2 separate regions of the Homo sapiens genome follow, and region 2 is linked to region 1. The links are contacts of gene promoters, found by promoter capture Hi-C in human tissues and cell types (Jung and others, 2019). All regions are on one chromosome and are shown on one strand. The core of a region is centred on a gene start or on the middle of the fragment in contact, and the rest is flanking DNA. Distances in the headings are between cores, read along the strand shown.

Region 1 (3,683 bases), core at 625-3,124:
AACCTAGGTTATAAACCTCGTGCGTGCTTCTACAAGCTCCCATACTTCCTCTTTCTTAACACCCATCCTACTTTTACTTTTTCAATATATATCTTTCTTGATAAATTTGAACTCCAAATTTTCAACACATAGCACAGTGTCCTGGACATAGGTGCTTCATAAATATTTGCATGAGTTTGAATTAAATGCATGTCGTATTTCTTACTTGAAAATCAGTAAATTGTTATTCTAGTTTACACAGTTCCTTTTTTTTGAGATTTATAAATTTGAGACTACTCTAAAAAATGAACCCACTGTTGGGCTTACAATACCAATTTCTAGTTCTACAGAGCCAGGCTTTCGAACACAGAAAATTCACCAGTAAGTACTTTCTTGTCATATCCTTTGACAGGTAATAATTTACCCTCTCCTTGGGGACACCCCTACCTTAAGACAAGAATTCTTTCAAACTTCAAAAACATCCATCTTCATTAATAAGTTCATAATGAAGACTTTTCACTTTAAGATGCCTAATTATCTTTCACAGATATTTATGAAATTTCAATTGTGCCAAGATTTTTCACAGGCTTATTTTACTTTAAGCTGGTCCTTCCATTTATTGAAGCTTCAATTAATTAGACTTCATCATGTTATAGCTAAATGGATGTGACTAGAAAGAGCAGCATACAGACATCTATGTGTAAACTGTTACTTGTTGGTTAACATTTATGTTTGAAATGGAAAATCAATAAAAGGGAACTTATATTAATTTATAAGCACATTAAGAAAAGAGGGGACACTATTTTTGATCCCAAGATAGCAACAAAACTAAAAACTTTTCCAAAGAAGCAAACGGGAACAGAGGTCAATAGGCTGTGACCTCTATTTTATGTTTAAAACGTTTGCACATCCACTAAGTGCACTGCAGAATCTTAAATGCAATTAAAATCAATGGGCATACAAGTTATAGAGTAGCTTGAGGAAGCACAAGTCAATCTTCATTAGCTATTGTAGCAAAGATTCCTTCCAAATCCATGGGAGCAGGTGCTGTTTATACTCCCTTCATTGACGCCCAGAACAATGGCATAGGGTGAGCATTGAATACTTATTTGCTACGCGCATGAATGAATGAAGCTACGCTGCGAAGGCAGACTGCGTGGCTGCTGGTCCCGTGGCTGCTGGCCCCGCAGCATGTCTGCCGCCTTTTCAGCAGGCTTGCTGCATCTCCTCATTCCCTCACCTTTCTGGCAGTAAGGAGTTCCCACGTTTGCCCCGCTTCAGTGTCGTGGACTGGCAAAATGCTGTCTCTAAACCCCTCCACGCCTCAGGTAATCCGCTCATTTCTCACACAGACGCAGCTGTTTCCGAGGAATGTCCGGCCGAGCCCGCAGGGTGCGGGCAGCGAGTATCCTGGGACCTTCAGGGGAGGAGGTGGCTCCCACACCCCAATACCGTACAGAGAGTCCGAAGAGTCCGGGCCCTTATTTTTCCAATTCTTGGTAAACAACAAACATGCTCGCCCTCGCCTCCCCGTGCAGACGCCTCAGGGCCAACTCGGGCTTCGCCAGGCACCGAGAGCAGACAGAAGACGCCAAATGGCTATCACCAGGAGAGAGGGCGAGGCAGCCGCGCGGCGTATAGCGCTCGCCCTTCCCGCGCGCTCGGTCGCCCGACGCCTCACGCGCGAGGTTGCCTTGGCAGTGGCTGGAGGGCAGGTGGGGGCGCGTGCGCGCAGAAGGGCGGGGGAGGGACCACCGCGCGCCAGCAGGTGGGCGCGTTCTCCCGCGCGCGTGCGCGCGTCGAAGCCCTATACATCACGTTCCCCGAGAGCAGCGTCCCCTCCCCGCCGGGAGCGCGCGCCTCCCATCCTCGCGCCGGGTCCTGCTCGGTCTCTCAGAGCCGCACACTCCGCGGAGCTCCTGCCACAGCCGTCGCCTTCGCGGCGGCTCTCCAGCCCCGCGCCTCAGCCTCGGCGCCGCATCACCGCGTCCCAGGCCTCCTTCCCTCCCTCTGCCACTCCCCCTCCCTTTCCCGCTCTTCTTGCCCACCCGGCCGGCAGAGAGAGCCTGGATACGAAGCAGGCGGGCTTCAGAGTGGGTTGGAAAAATGGAGGTGCCGCGCCTGGATCATGCCCTCAACAGCCCCACCAGCCCCTGTGAGGAGGTGATCAAAAACCTCAGCCTGGAGGCCATTCAGCTGTGCGACCGGGACGGTAAGAGCGGCCGGGACCGCGAGGAAAGGGACAGAGTTCGCGCCGAGGCGCCGGGGCCACTCTGGCTCCGCCGACGCCGCTCGCCAGGGCGGCAGGGTCTTTTGTTGTCCCCTCTGTGCAAATAAATGCAGATGTGGGTTACCCTCCGCCCACCGCCCTCCCCTCACCCCAGAAACAAAAGGACCCCGGGGCTCGCGCCTTGGCGCGGAAAGTAGCCGTCCACAACCGTGGCGCCCTTCGCCGCCTTCGCCCGCCTGGCCCGGACGAGGGCGACGTTCCCGCTCGCGGCTCCTGCCCCGACGAGGCGTTTCCGATCTTTGCCGCAGTCCGGATTTCCTGGGTCTCTGGGCACTGAAGGGGAAATGCCCTCGGGATGTTTCTAGCAACCCCCTTCCCCCAACACACACACACTAGTTGGCATTCTCTTCCAGAAACTTATCATTTTCTTTTTTAAACCTCCCATCCTCAGACTCCCCAAATTAACAAGTCTTTTTAGCCTCTTGGATTGGGATTAGGATGACAGTTTTTCAGTGAGGGCGCAGAAAAACAGTGCATTTCAGCACCAAGGACAGACACAATCTTCATGGTTCCTGGGCTCTGAGTCAGACTGTCGAAAATATTGGCCTAATATATGTGCTGTGATTCAGACTTTGTGGCGAGTACGTACCATTGCGTGTTGATATTATATCGTTTATTCTGTTGTTGAAGTTGGCAGGCTCCTGTGGAAGGAAATTGATTGAATACAGGTCTGAGCGTTGAAGACATAAGCTAGTGCTGTGTGCGGTGTGGTTAGTTACAGTGCTTCTGGGTTAGCTGGACTAGTTAGAGTCTGCTACTTTAGTAATGTGGTACAAAACTTCATTTGTAAAGAAATCATTTGATTAGTAATTGGTTGGCCGAATAATTGTAAAATTCTACATCTGACAAAGGAAACACAGTTCACATGTTGTTAAGAGGGCCCCAAATACTTTTGACTGTAAATGAAATTAATGTTTAACTGTATATAGAGGTAATGATTGTAAAACATGTCTTTAACCAAAGTTATGTACAGATACTAATACGCTCACAGTAAGGTCATAAAATTTATCAGCCTAATCCAAATAGGGAGCAGAGGTCTTGTTTCCAAAGTCATTTAAATGGTAATCACTTGGTTACGCATTGCTATTCAGCACGTTTATATCAAGCAAGCACCGAATTTGTTTATTACTAAATTTTATATTTATTAATATAAATTTATATTTAATAATTTTGAAACCAGAATTCAAACTTTTTGAAACCAAAACCACTTTAATTTCTGATACAGGTGTAGTATATGAATAAATAAATACGTTTGCAAAGACAGCTTGTATTTCCTTTATTCTTAGACTGTTTTAGTCACCATGGTAGTAAGTGCACATATTTATGGTATCTAAAAACATTTATCATTTTGGTATTCCATATGTAAGCTTGCATGATTATAGACTGTAAAGATTATTTTTAATAACGCATAGGA
Region 2 (3,683 bases), core at 351-2,850, 150 kb before region 1:
GACTATTGCACCCTCAAGAAAAAAAATACACACAAACATAGAAATGTATATAATATATAGATACATGTATGTATCTATGCATATATATGTAATTTCTCTCGCTCTCTTATCTTTCTCTTTCTCTCCACACATACACACACATACAATCACATGCACATTAACACACATTGTTTTTTCTTAATGCTCATGCATATAAAAGCAATGAAGAAAGAGAGGCGTAGAGGTAACATGGAGTCAAGGCTTCCAAGGTTGTTTTCTCACTAATTATGTGTGGCCTTTGGTAAGTCTCTCTGAAAAGTGATGTCTTAGTGTAGTACATTGTTATATGATTTAAAAGATTGGATGTTGAAAAGTTAACTCAAAATTTGATAACGCTATTCTTCTATTGAAGATCCACTATGAGCACCAAAGATCTGGGAAGTGGAGAGAATAAAACCCTAATCCAGGACAGCTTTAGTTTTTCTTGGGGCTCATGATCAGTTTACTATTTCAGCTTGTCAAATAAAGCCCAAGAGGCATTTTTAAGCTTGGAAAATGCAATTCAATAGGGAATATCATTACACAAAGTTGATAACTTTTTTTGTCTTTTCCTTCTCTTTTTTCAATGCATGTGTACGCGCATGCGTGAGTGTGTGATTATAATCCTCTCGATTTAGTCAGGGCCCATCAGCAGCCTGTGGCTTTCCCCTCACTCATCTTGTATCATTTCGTACCCGATGAGCAATCCCTACTTTACCGATAATTTCAAGCAGATGAGAGAAAAGGGTAGAAACAGCCTCAGAGAACACACAGCATTTTGCTTTAAAAATTCCTGCTCTGTATTTAGCTTTTAGCTAAATCCTCTCTCCCTCTGAATATTTCCCACATGTAGGCAATTTTGCTTTTCTTTTCAGTTTTAAATGCCGCAACTCAGCAAGAAAAAAAAAGTGTCTGGTATCTTCCTGAACAACTACCTGGTATTATACAGGTGAGATAAATTGTGATGCCACCAAATGTCCTATATATAAACGTATGGACATATATTCTTTTCTGAAAACTGTATTTATACTGCATAATTTCTATCTTATATTTTCATGAATGGTGCCTGTTCATTTCCTTATATCATTAAATACACTTCAAGAAAACGTCATTTCCAGTGGACTCCCAACAAGAGCATAAACTTTTGATGTCAGAAAAACAGCGCAGACATGATCTGGACTCTGGGATATGTAAGATGACCCTCGTCTTAGGAGGCCACATGGACTGTATCACGTACACAGTATATGAGGAAGCTGAGCTTTCCCTAGGGAAACAAGAAAAAGAGTGGAAACTTAACATTGTCCTATTTTTGTGCTTTACATTTATTATCCTACTTAGTGCTTCCCCAAAACTTAGAAACTGTTATTATCTCATTTTACATAGGAGGAAACTGTGACTTAGAGAGATGAAGATACCTTATATATAGATCTTGGATTTGGGACCAGAACTGCCCTAGTCTAGACCTTAGTTCTTTCTATTTCACCATTCTGCTTCTCTGAGAGGTAAACGACATCTTAAAATCAAGTCAGATAAAATGCTTTATACAACTACATGAAGAAAAAATTTAAATTTTATGAGTGGAATAGGACATTTGGTTACTCGGAATCAGGGAGATAATGCAATGTTCTTATGCTTCATGTTTAATTCCCTGAAGCTTAAAAGGGGAATCTTGAGGACAAGTAGGGCAGTCTCTCTTTCCTTAGGTCGGGAATCAGGGAGAAATGAAAAAGGATAGAGTGGGTGTGGAGATAATGGTAGCTCAGTCTAGGAGAAATGGAGCCCGCTCATCTCTACATGAACTAAATACTGGCAGAGATTGAGAATTTTTGTATATCCTGCATCACTTTTAAAAAGTAGATCACTTCTAACAATATAGGATTGAAGACAATAAGAGAGGCCTAGGGGTCTTTTAATCTATATTAGCTAAATGTCTTTGATAACATTTAATAAACTTGGCAATGAAGTTCTGGGTGCTGTTAATATTAAATCATGATTTCTTAAAACATTTTTAAACATTTTATTTGCTTGGTTTGTATTTTTCCCTTTTGTATCTTGACCAACTCTTTCTAGCTGGGCTTGACTTTCTGCCACCACCAAAGAGCAGGGCAAGTACTCAAGTAAGTAAGCTACTAAGAAGGCCAGTGACCCAAGCCACCAGGAGAATCAGCTACCCATCTCCACTCCAGGGTTTCTGCCATTCAGTGACCGTGTCAGGTAGGACAGGCAATTACAGACATCACTATACTCATGCCTCTCCTTAAGCTAATGGAAAACAGGCAAGGATGATGCCCAAGAAGGTCTCAAATGTGTTACTCAGGCATCATCTTTTATTCATAGTGCAAACGTTTTTGGTAACAGGGACCAACTCCCCTGAAACCTACTACAGCCCTTCAAGACTTCTGTATAATTCTTTCTCCTTTATCAAGCCTGTGTACCCAGTATAGGGTAGTGGAGGCATGCTGTTCTTACTCACTAGCTCATTTTTGCCTAATTCTACCATCTTAATATATTTAATCCTTCCAAAAAAGTCATAAAGTATTCTAAGCATAGATAACCACATGAATTATGCCTTTTACGTGTAGAACCTAATAGAAGATACATTTCTCATTCATATTGCCTACAATAACACTCTTTCTCTACAAGGATACAATCAATAACACCATTACCCTCTCCATTCACTGATCCCAAACTAAGGGGAAAGGTCACTATGAGCCAGGGAAATCAGAGAAACACCAGGGGGCACAGTGCAAGGCCTGGGATAAAACTAGGAGCATTGGGACAATTCCTGAGGTGGGCTTTCTGTAATGAGAAGAGACAACTGTGACAGGGACTTCCTTTCTATTTGGGAATGTCCTTAGCAACCTATAGCTGCCTTGCCCCACCGACCCCATCCCACCTACTCCTGTTCTTTTCCCTAAATGGCTCCTGCTGGCTGTAATGGTAGCCTTGGCAGATGACAGGGTCAAGAGATGTGCACAATTATACAGTCCTTCTTCACCCCTGTCTGAGTTCTTACATAACCTCCTAGTCTCTCGGGATGAGCAGAACATCCTGTCAAAAGCAAGAGGTATCAGAGAAGGAGGCAAAGAAGGGTTACAGGTCAGACTCTCTGGTTACCTTGAGCCTTGCCACTAATTTCCATCATCTGGGATTTTTCTTAACTTTCTTCCTACCTAGACTGCCCTGGCTCCAGAGGCATTCATATCTCTATGCCTCAGACAGCAATTATAATGAGCTGCAGGCATGCAGGTCAAGGAAGAATTGACAAGAGTAGCCTCATATAAGGACAAGCTATGAGAGAGATAACAAAGGGTTTTCTTTACTCCAAAGCACCATTTTATTTCTAGTAAAAGTTCAGTTACTCAAATTCAGCACCTAGATATATACCCCAAAGTAATGAAAACAGAGGCTCACACAAATATTGGTATATTAATGTTCACTGCAGCTTTATTCACAATAGTTAAAAAATAGAAACAACCCAAGCGTCCATCAACAAATTCATGTATTAAAAATGTGGTATATGTGTATAATGAATATTATTCAACAATAAAAAAGAATGAAATTTTATATATGCTACAATATGGAGGAGCTTTAAAAACATTACGCTAAGTGAAATATTCCAGACACAAAAAGGCAAATATTGCATGGTTTCACTTATATGAAAT

What was found. The method cuts DNA at HindIII sites, captures the fragments that hold promoters and counts their contacts. A contact is called where the count stands out against the background at its distance.
Region 2: a fragment that was not itself captured here is called in contact with the fragment with the promoter of PHYHIPL in region 1 in 1 of the 25 tissues and cell types used here (dorsolateral prefrontal cortex).

The regions. Positions count from the first base shown.
Region 1 is chr10:59,174,769-59,178,451 of GRCh38, forward strand. PHYHIPL (phytanoyl-CoA 2-hydroxylase interacting protein like) reads left to right here and starts at 1,875. Exons shown (of 5, transcript NM_032439.4): 1 at 1,875-2,191. The coding sequence starts at 2,086. CCEPR (cervical carcinoma expressed PCNA regulatory lncRNA) reads right to left here and starts at 1,696. Exons shown (of 1, transcript NR_131782.1): 1 at 1-1,696. The HindIII fragment of the contact is 6,557 bases long and covers 1-3,683 here.
Region 2 is chr10:59,021,676-59,025,358 of GRCh38, forward strand. LOC102724768 (a long non-coding RNA gene) reads left to right here. Exons shown (of 3, transcript XR_428752.5): 2 at 894-967. Among named protein-coding and RNA genes, the nearest start is that of LINC00844, 24 kb to the left of the region's middle. The HindIII fragment of the contact is 4,949 bases long and covers 1-3,683 here.